2 separate regions of the Homo sapiens genome follow, and region 2 is linked to region 1. The links are contacts of gene promoters, found by promoter capture Hi-C in human tissues and cell types (Jung and others, 2019). All regions are on one chromosome and are shown on one strand. Each heading gives the region's core, a stretch centred on a gene start or on the middle of the fragment in contact. The rest is flanking DNA. Distances are from core to core; before and after follow the strand shown.

What was found. The method cuts DNA at HindIII sites, captures the fragments that hold promoters and counts their contacts. A contact is called where the count stands out against the background at its distance.
Region 2: a fragment that was not itself captured here is called in contact with the fragment with the promoter of ERMARD in region 1 in 2 of the 25 tissues and cell types used here (IMR-90 fibroblasts and lymphoblastoid cells).

Annotation. Positions count from the first base shown.
Region 1 is chr6:169,748,916-169,753,553 of GRCh38, reverse strand. ERMARD (ER membrane associated RNA degradation) reads right to left here and starts at 1,932. Exons shown (of 18, transcript NM_018341.3): 1 at 1,891-1,932. The coding sequence starts at 1,896. DYNLT2 (dynein light chain Tctex-type 2) reads left to right here and starts at 1,982. Exons shown (of 4, transcript NM_174910.3): 1 at 1,982-2,215. The coding sequence starts at 2,096. The HindIII fragment of the contact is 9,893 bases long and covers 1-4,638 here.
Region 2 is chr6:169,547,794-169,552,431 of GRCh38, reverse strand. The region is part of intron 25 of WDR27 (WD repeat domain 27); the gene reads left to right. Among named protein-coding and RNA genes, the nearest start is that of WDR27, 150 kb to the left of the region's middle. The HindIII fragment of the contact is 8,324 bases long and covers 1-4,638 here.

The DNA.
Region 1 (4,638 bases), core at 683-3,182:
AAAAAAAAAAAAGAAAAAATACAAGTTCACGGAAGCTGAATGTGTTTTACGACCAGAGCATTATTGCTCTCAGCATTCCTTCACTATCCCAGAGTTATCAAAATAAGCAATTTTTTTAAATGGGGAATGGGAGAGCAGAAACCAAGTATAACGAACAAGAAGGAAAAAGAACCCCACGTACCTCTGACTACCTAAACGGTGTTGAAGAAAACCACAATGTCATCCCAAAACATGCCTCTTCGATATAAAAACAACAACAAATTTGAGCTGAAGACAAGAGGCAGCAAATGAAGGAAAAGCTCTCTCTATCCTCCCCCTCTTCCGCCCAAAGACAGGATATAAATTCTTTACTGGGGATAACTTTAGACTTACCAGACCAGTTAAGGTACCAGGGGAATCTGCAAACAATTCTTACTCCATTAGTTTCCGAATATGTATCTACCTTCCCAATTTCCTGCCCTTTGAAGCCTAAAACTGCTCTCCTGTGTCCTGTCACTTCTCTGCAAATCTACAGTTCTTTGTTGAAGATGGTATACAAATGTAGTTCTAAGCCACCATTTCAAGTTACTTCTCATTAAGGTTTATCCCTTGTGATGTGTACTCTGTCCAAGAATAAACTTTTTTCTTGTTATCCTTTCATTTGTTAAAGGGGTCACTCCGAACTAAGATGGGCAGAGGTAAAGTTTAGCCTTCCCTGCCATGTAAAAAGTAGCAAACCGTACTGGTTTTCCATGGAGAATTAAATACAATCGAAATCCTCACAATTACCCCACATGACACTAAGACCATCGTATAAACCTGCAAAGAAGTCAAATTCAGGATCTAAAGCGGAACCGAAGCTCTTTATTTTGGTGTGTTGAGTTAAGGGGGGGCTGTGTTGTGACAGTCATAATTAGCTCTGGGCAGCTTCCTAATGTGGAAACTGCTATCAGTTGCCCTGTTTGCTCCTCCTGCACCCAGAAGTTGCACTTTCCACTCTCAGCCCTGGTTTTCGAACAATCCCAGCAGGCCCTAACAATTAAGTCATCACTAAAGAAATCTACATCAACTATTTGTTGATTGGCGATTGTCACTCGCATCCTCCATGTGGCTCTATGGGGCTGGAACTCTGCAGACTACACTGGGCCGGTGCTTTGGAGCTGGACTTAAATTTGAATCATTCCTCAGCCTCTGACTACCTCTTGCCTTGGAAAAGTTACTTTATCGGAATCTCAGTTCTAAGTGAAATAAAACGGTGCCAGGCTGCACCTGGTAGGGCTACAGTAATCAGATAACACATGAAAAGCATCTAGCACATAGTACTCAAAAATGGTAGTTATCGTTATCATCATTTTGGAGACGGGGTCTCGCCGTCGCCCAGACAGGGGTGCAGTGGCGCGATCTCGGCTCACTGCAGCCTCCACCTCCTGGGCTAAAGCGATCCTTCCACCTCAGCCTACGGAGTAGATGGGACCACAGGCCCCACCACGCCCGGCGATGAACACAAATTTACTGTCCGAGTGTGGACCCTACAGGCAGCGACTAGGAAACTGCGCTTCTAGGAACGAGCCACGGTCAGGTGAGAGCCCGACCTGCGGCTTTCCGCCCCCGCGCCACCGCGCACAGCCCTCCCTGACCGTCCGCCGCGTTCCAGCTCAGGGCCAGGAGGCGACGGAGAAACCGAGCCTGGCCCAGGGAGGCCGGCAGGGCCCGCCAGGCGTCTTGCAGGGCCGAGCGTCCGATACCGCCACAGAGGCCAGGGCCGCGACGTCGCCAGCGCCCTCCAGCGCGGGACCGCCGGCCACCGCAGGCGCGTGCTCGCTCGCCCACTCCGCGTAGCCGAGCACCACCCAGCCTGGCGCCGACTCCCTGCCTAGCTCGGGATCGAACCGGGCCCTACACCCGCCCTACCTCCATAACTTCCGGTGCCCCGCTGCGGCGCGCGTGAATGACGCAGGCGCCTGCGCGCCCCTCCTCCAGGCGCTTTGGAGCCCTGGCGGGCACTTCCTACCGTACGAGGCGCAGGTGGGAGACTTCCGCCCTCGCGGGACTGGCTAGGGCGTTTGACCGCCGGCGGTGAAGGGGAGGCGGTGGGCGTCTTGGAGAACAGAGCGAGATGGAGAAGCGAGGCCGAGGCGTGAAGTCGAGCCCCATCCAGACCCCGAACCAGACCCCTCAGCAGGCTCCGGTGACGCCTAGGAAAGAAAGGAGGCCTAGCATGTTCGAGAAGGAGGCAGTGAGTGCGGAGACTGCTAGGGGCCCGAGACGGCTATGTCCGACCGTTTAAGTGAAATCGCTCCCCAGTGGGCCCCGCTCCCGTCACCACCCCCAGAGCCAAGGAGGCAGCATCTCCCTTTTGTGTTTCTTTTTTCCCCAGATGCGAAATTGAAGCCTGAGACTGAGTTGGGCAGTCCCCTTTGGACTTGAGTGCTAAAGTTTTCTTGTTTTTTAATTAGGGCCATAGAACCCTACATAAGTCGATTGGAAGGGTGGTTACAAGATCTTCTTTTCAAATTTACTCAGCTTGCGGATTTCCTGAGAGTACTCTGAGTATTATTGCTTTGTACTAAAACACAGTATGTTAGTGTATTTAGTGCCATTATAAGCAGTTTTGCTAGCGAAAAATGAGTGTGTTGTATTAAAAAAATAATTTGATAAACCAGGCAGAATAGTGCCATGTTTTGGGTTTTTAAAACATCAGCAGTCTGGATATTTGAAGAATGTACAGGAGAAAAAAACTTAAGTTGAAAATACCCTGTCCAAAACTTACTGATATTGATGGAAAGGGTCATTATTCAGTTTTATTGGTGGTATAACAGGTATTTCTATATGATTAGGCTTTGAAAACCGTTAATGTATTAAAGACTCTATATTTTATTGATACTTTAACAGAAAATTAGTTTGCCCAAGGATACAAAGCTGTAATGATAGAGCTGGGACCAGAACCTGTATGCTAGTACTCGGTCCAATTGGCCTATACTGGTTTCTCTTCGTACTTACTTCGTGGACCTATAATAGGATGAAGATAGAGATGACAGGCAAAACAATTTTTTGAAGACCCTAAAACATTTTAAGATTACTCTTAAAAAGAGAATTCTCAAAATAATGGCGAAATTTCAGGTTCTTGTTTCCCTGGTGTCTACATTTTACAGAGGAAAGAACGAACTAAATAAAGGAGGAAAAGCAAACAGGCCAAGTTTACACAGCTAAGAAAAAGAGCAGAGCAGGGCTAGAAACCTAAATCAGTTGGACTTAAAACTTCACACTCCCAAACACTATGCTGTATTTCTTGGCAATGAGTCTGAGTAACAGGTCACCAACAGTAAAGAAAAATTTCTATATATTGAGGCAGACAAGGGTGGCTTTTATAAACTTACTGCCTATCTGAGGTCTGAAGTGGTCTTTAAAATTCAATGAGCCTGAACTCAAAATGAGGAGACACATAGGTGCACCTGGTATATAGGTTAAAATCTGGGAGTGAGGGGACATGGACCAAAGTAATTATTAGTATTTGATATGGATGTGATCAATTATAGCTATCTTTAAAGTTGATTCTTTTAGAGGTGAGAAATTTGAATAGAACAATAATTGGGAAGAAATTGAGAAAGGACTCTACAAATGCTCACTAAATGTACCTGAGGAAACTGTTCACTTAGTTATTTCTAATTTAAGGTAGCTGTTAATTTCCCTATTTTGGAGCATAGGAAAATTTAAGACATACTGTTTCATCAATATGACCATCTCTTGATTTTATCTGTCTTGCCTCCATTTCTTTTTTTCTAGTGGTAGCACCTCAGTTAACTTTTAGAGAATTAACTCATCTGCAATTGTATAGAGCTTTGGTGAGATTGTCAGCTACTTCCCTTAACTTTTTAATAAGGATGAGACCCAAACTAAGCTAATTAGATGAATTCTTTGAAATAATGCAAAGAAAATGATTGAGGTTTATTCACATTGAAGATGAGAAGCTAAAGTGTTCCCTGTGTCTTTCTGAATCTGGTTCATCAGCCTTCTCTGCTGTTATGTAAACTGTATCTTTCCAATAAATTATACTTTGGCTTAACACGAATGAGTTCCTGTTGTTGCGATCAAAGGTAACAAAATGCGAAGTAGATTACTAAAATTGGAAAACGTGATTGTTCTCACTTGTGCACATGCATTGAAATTCTTAAATACAGCCGGGTGCAGTGGCCCATGCATGTAATCCCCACTTTGGGAGGCCAAGGCGGATGGATCACCTGAGGTCAGGAGTTCAAAACCAGCCTGGCCAACATGCCAAAACCCCGTCTCTACTAAAAATACAAAAATTAGCCGGGCTTGGTGGTAGGCACCTGTAATCCCAGCTACTCAGGGAGGCTGAGGCACGAGAATTGCTTGAACCCGGGAGGAGGAAGTTGCAGTGAGCCGAGATCATGCCACTGCACTCCAGCCTGGGCAACAGAGTGAGACTCTTGTCTCAGAAAAGAAAAAAAAAATCTTAAACACTAGCATGTGGCATTTAGAAATAAAAGTAATATCTCCTGCCCAAGCTCATTTTATTTTAGGGCTATATGTAGGCTCAATATAAGGAAATGCTATATCAGTAGAAACTCAGGTATTATTAGATGCCAAAAAGTTGATCATATTTAAAGCCTATTCCCAATTTAAAAAAGATTATAA
Region 2 (4,638 bases), core at 1,149-3,648, 200 kb after region 1:
CTGCGTTCAGCTGTTGCTCTGGGAGTGAGGGCTGCAGCGGGAACAGGCTGAAAGTCCTCGTGGAGCTGGCGTTTCAGCGTGTTTGTGTTTGTGCAGTGGGGGAGACGAACAATAATAACATGAGTGGTCATCTACGTGCTTATTAAAAGGCCACGGGTTCTATGGCTAAACGGAAGGAAGTGGGGGGCAGCTTGTGCAGGTGGGGACAGCGACTCTGCATGTGTGGTCGGGGTGGGCTGCATGACTGCCGGGTGGTGGGACGATGAGAACACAGGCCCGAGCAGGATGGAGCCTGGATGCTTGGGTCAGCAGGACGGACACTGGAGCAGCAAGTGAGAGGGAGACCTCCTGAGTGACTGGGGGCAGTGGGGCCCAGACCCCTGTTGCCTTTCTTTGTATGCGGCTTCTCTGCGTGGGACGGAACCCACGGGAGGGTATTGAGTAGATCACTGAGAAAAATCTGACTTCTAAGACAGGGGTTTGCAGATGACCCTGTTTTTGTAAATAAAGTTTTATCAGTACGCAGGCATTCATGTAAGTGTCGACTGTGACTGCGTTCAGAATAGCAGCAGCGGAGTTGCGTGGTTATGACGCAAGCGACCTGGCCTTCAAAGCCAGAATCGTCTTTACTCTCTGGCTGCTAATAAGACACGTTTTTTCTTTTCTTTTCTTTTTCTTTTTTTTTTTTTTTTTTGAGATGGAGTCTCGCTCTTATTGCCCAGGCTGGAGTGCAATGGCGCAATCTCAGCTCACTCCAACCTCCACCTCCTGGGTTCAAGTGATTCTCCTGCCTCAGCCTCCTGAGTAGCTGGGATTACAGGCACCCACCACCATGCCCAGCTAATTTTTTTGTATTTTTAGTAGAGACAGGGTTTCACCATGTTGGCCAGGCTGGTCTCGAACTCGTGACCTCAGGTAATCCATCCACCTTGGCCTCCTAAAGTACTGGATCCTCCTCTTGTTTTAACAGAGTCACTCAGGTTGTTATGTTGAGAAAAAACTAGAGGAAGAGGTTGGACACAGGAGACCAACTAGGAGGTGCCTGGAGTAAATCAGGAGAGATAGTGGTAAGTTCTGTGAAAAACGTAACCCAGATAAGGGGGCCCAGTGAGGGTGAGCGTGGGGTCTCTCTGTGTCTAAATTACTTAGCGAAGTGATTGGAGCCTTATGAGTCCCAGTTCATTAGCTGTAGGGGTGGTAGAAATCAGTTTGTTTACTGTAGTAGTTTCATCCAACTGAAGTATGATTTGTATTTATAAAGTGGGGACTCATTCACCTTTCCAAAATAGCATGAATGGACATGCCAGCTCAAACGCCTTTGGAATTTTATAGTATTTTTCCTCATTTATTTTTCCTTAGAAGAGTTTATGTTCTTTATTTATTTTAATCTATGCCCACATAAAAATAACTCAAAATGTCCAGGTGCGGTGGCTGACACCTGTAAACCCTCCACTTTGAGAGGCCGAGGTAGGCAGATTGCTTCAGTCCAGGAGTTCAAGACCAGCTTGGGCAACATAGTGAGACCCCGTCTCTACAAAACATACAAAAGTTAACCAGGCGTGGTGGCGCATGCCTGTGGTCTCAGCTACTTGGGATGCTGAGGTGGGAGGATTGCTTGAGCCCAGGAGGTCAAGGCTGCAGTGAGCTGTGATTGAGTCACTGCACTCCAGCCTGGGCAACAGAGAAAGACCCTGTCTCAAAAATAAAATAAGGCCAGGTGTGGTGGCTCACACCTGTAATCCCAGCACTTTGGGAGGCTGAGGCGAGTGGATCACTTGAGGTTAGCAGTTCAAGACCAGCCTGGAAATCATGGTGAAACCTCATCTCTACTAAAAATACAAAAACTAGCCTGAGTATGGTGGCACATGCCTGTAGTCCTAGCTACTCAGGTGGCTGAGGCAGGAGAATTGCTTGAACCCAGGAGGTGGAGGTTGCAATGAGCCGAGATTGTGCCACTGCACTCCAGCCTGGGTGACAGAGTGATACCCTATCTCAAAATAAATAAATAAATAAATAATATAAAATACAATAACAATAAAAATAACTCAGAATGACACACAAGCATTAACTGGATCTGTGGGCCCAGTAGCCTAGACTACCATTTCATGTACTCAGTGGACAGCAGTTCCTGGCCTCATTAACCTTCTTGTTGATGCTAGATGTGTTATTTTAGAAACATACAAAGTAACTGAACACTCTTATAACGATATGTGCAGCTTTTCTGAAAGTTTACTTAAACAAATTCTTTTTAAAGAGCAGTTTTAGGTTCACAGCAAAATTGTGAGGAAAGTATGGAGATTTCCCTTGTGCCTCCTGGCCCCCTGTCCCTATCTTCCACCAGAGTGGTACGTTTGTTACTGTTACCATTGTTGATGAACCTACATTGACACATCATCATCACCAAAGTCCACAGTTTATCAGCATTCACTCTTGGTGGTGTGCCTTCTATGGGTTCTGACAGGCCTATAATGGCATCATCCACCATGACAGCATCATAGTGTATGTTCTCTACATACTGTAGTTCCACTGCCTTAAGAATCTGCCTATTCATCCCTCTCTCCTTCCTAACTCCTGTCAACCACTGGTTTCTTTACTGTCTCCATAGTGTTGCCTTTTCCAGGAGATCATAGAGTTGGAATCACACAGCATGCAGCCTATTCAGATTGGCATCTTTCTCTGCATAGCATGTGTTTAAGCTTCCTCTGTGTCTTTTCATGGCTTGCTTGCTCACTTCTTTTTAGTGCTGGATCACACTCTGTCATCTGGATGCACCACAGTTTTATTTATCAGTTCACCTACTGAAGCACGTCTTTGTAGCTTTCATATTTTGCAATTATGAATAAAGCTGCTGTAAACATCCATGTGCAATTTTTGTGTGATGAACAATTTTCAGCTTATTTTGGTAAATACCAAGGAGTACAGTTTCTGAATCATATGGTAAGTGTATGTTTAGTTCTGTGGGAAACTGCCAAATTGTCTTCCAAAAAGGCTGCACCATTTTGCACTCCCACCAGCAATGAATGGGAGTTCCTGTTGCTCCACATCCTCACCAGCATTTGGTGTTTTCCATGTTCTGGACTTTAGCCATTCTCATAGGTGTGCAAATAATCTCATTGTTGTTTAAATGTGCATTTTCCTGATGATGTGATGTGGAGTATTTTTATATGCTTATTTGCCATCGGTATGTCCCTCTTTGGTGAGGCATCTGTTGACATCTTTGGCCCAATTTTTTATCGGGTTATTTTCTTTTGTATATATTAGATAGCAGTTCTTTATCGGATTTGTCTTTTGCGTTTATTTTCTCCCGGTTTGTGGCTTATCTTCTCATTCACTTGACATTATCCATTTCAGAGAAGTTTTTAATTCCAGTGAAGTCCTGATTTTCAGTTATTCTTTCATAGATCATGCTTTTTTTGTTGTATCTAAAAATTCATTGCCATACCCAAGGTCATCTAGGTTTTCTTCTATGTTATCTTCTAGGAATTATATAGCTTTGCATTTTGCAGTTAGGTTTGTGATCAGTTATGAGTTAACTTTTGTGTGAAGGGTGTAAGGTCTATGTCCAGATTCATTTGTTTTTTTGCATGTGAATGTCCAGTTGTTCTATAGCACCATTTGTTAAAGACTATTTTCTTCATTGTATTGTCTTTGCTCCTCTGTCAAAGATCTGTTGGCTGTATTTATGTGGGTCTATTTCTGGGCTCTCTATTCTGTTCCATTGTTCTGTTTGTCTCTTCTTTTTCCAACACAGCACTGTCTTGATTACTATAGATTCATAGTAAGTCTTGAAGTAGGGAACTGTTACCCCTTCAACTTTGTTCTTCTCTTTCAATACTGAGTTGGCTCTTCTCAGTATATGAAATATGAAATATTTCTATGTATATATGAAAGGTCTTTTGCTTTTCATACATACAGTGTGATGTTTCAATACATGTATACACTTTATAATGATCAAATCAGGGTAATTCACATATCAGTCACTTCAAACCTTTATTATTTCTTGGTGTTGGTAAAATTCAGAATCCTCTCTTCTAGCTGTTTAAAAAATACAATAAATTATTGTTTATTATAGTTTTTTTGCCTTTCTATGTAAATTTCAGAATCATTTTGTTGATATACACAAAATAATTAGCTGCACTTTTGATTGGGGTTGCACTGAATGTGTAGATCGAATTGGGAAGAACCGACACCTGGACAGTATTGTCTTCCTATCCATGGACATGGAATAGCTCTCCATTTATTTAGTTCTTCTTTGATATCCTTCATTAGAGTTTTGTCATTTTCCTCATATAGACCTTGTACTTATTTTGATAGATTTATACCTGTTTCATTTTTGGGTTGCTAATGTAAATGATATTGTGTTTTTAATTTCAAATTCCACTTGTTCATTGTTGGTATATAGGAAAGTGATTAACTTTTATGTATTAACCTTGAAAGTGATTAACTTTTGTATATTGACCTTGAATTCTGCAATCCTGCTAAAATCACTGTTTGTTCCAGAAGGTTTTTTTTTTTTGGTAAATTCTTTCAAATGTTCTATGTAGACAATCATGTCATCTACAAAGTCAGTTTTGTTTCTTCTTTACCAATCTGTATACCTTTTATTTCCTTTTCTTGTCTTATTGCATTAGCTAGGAA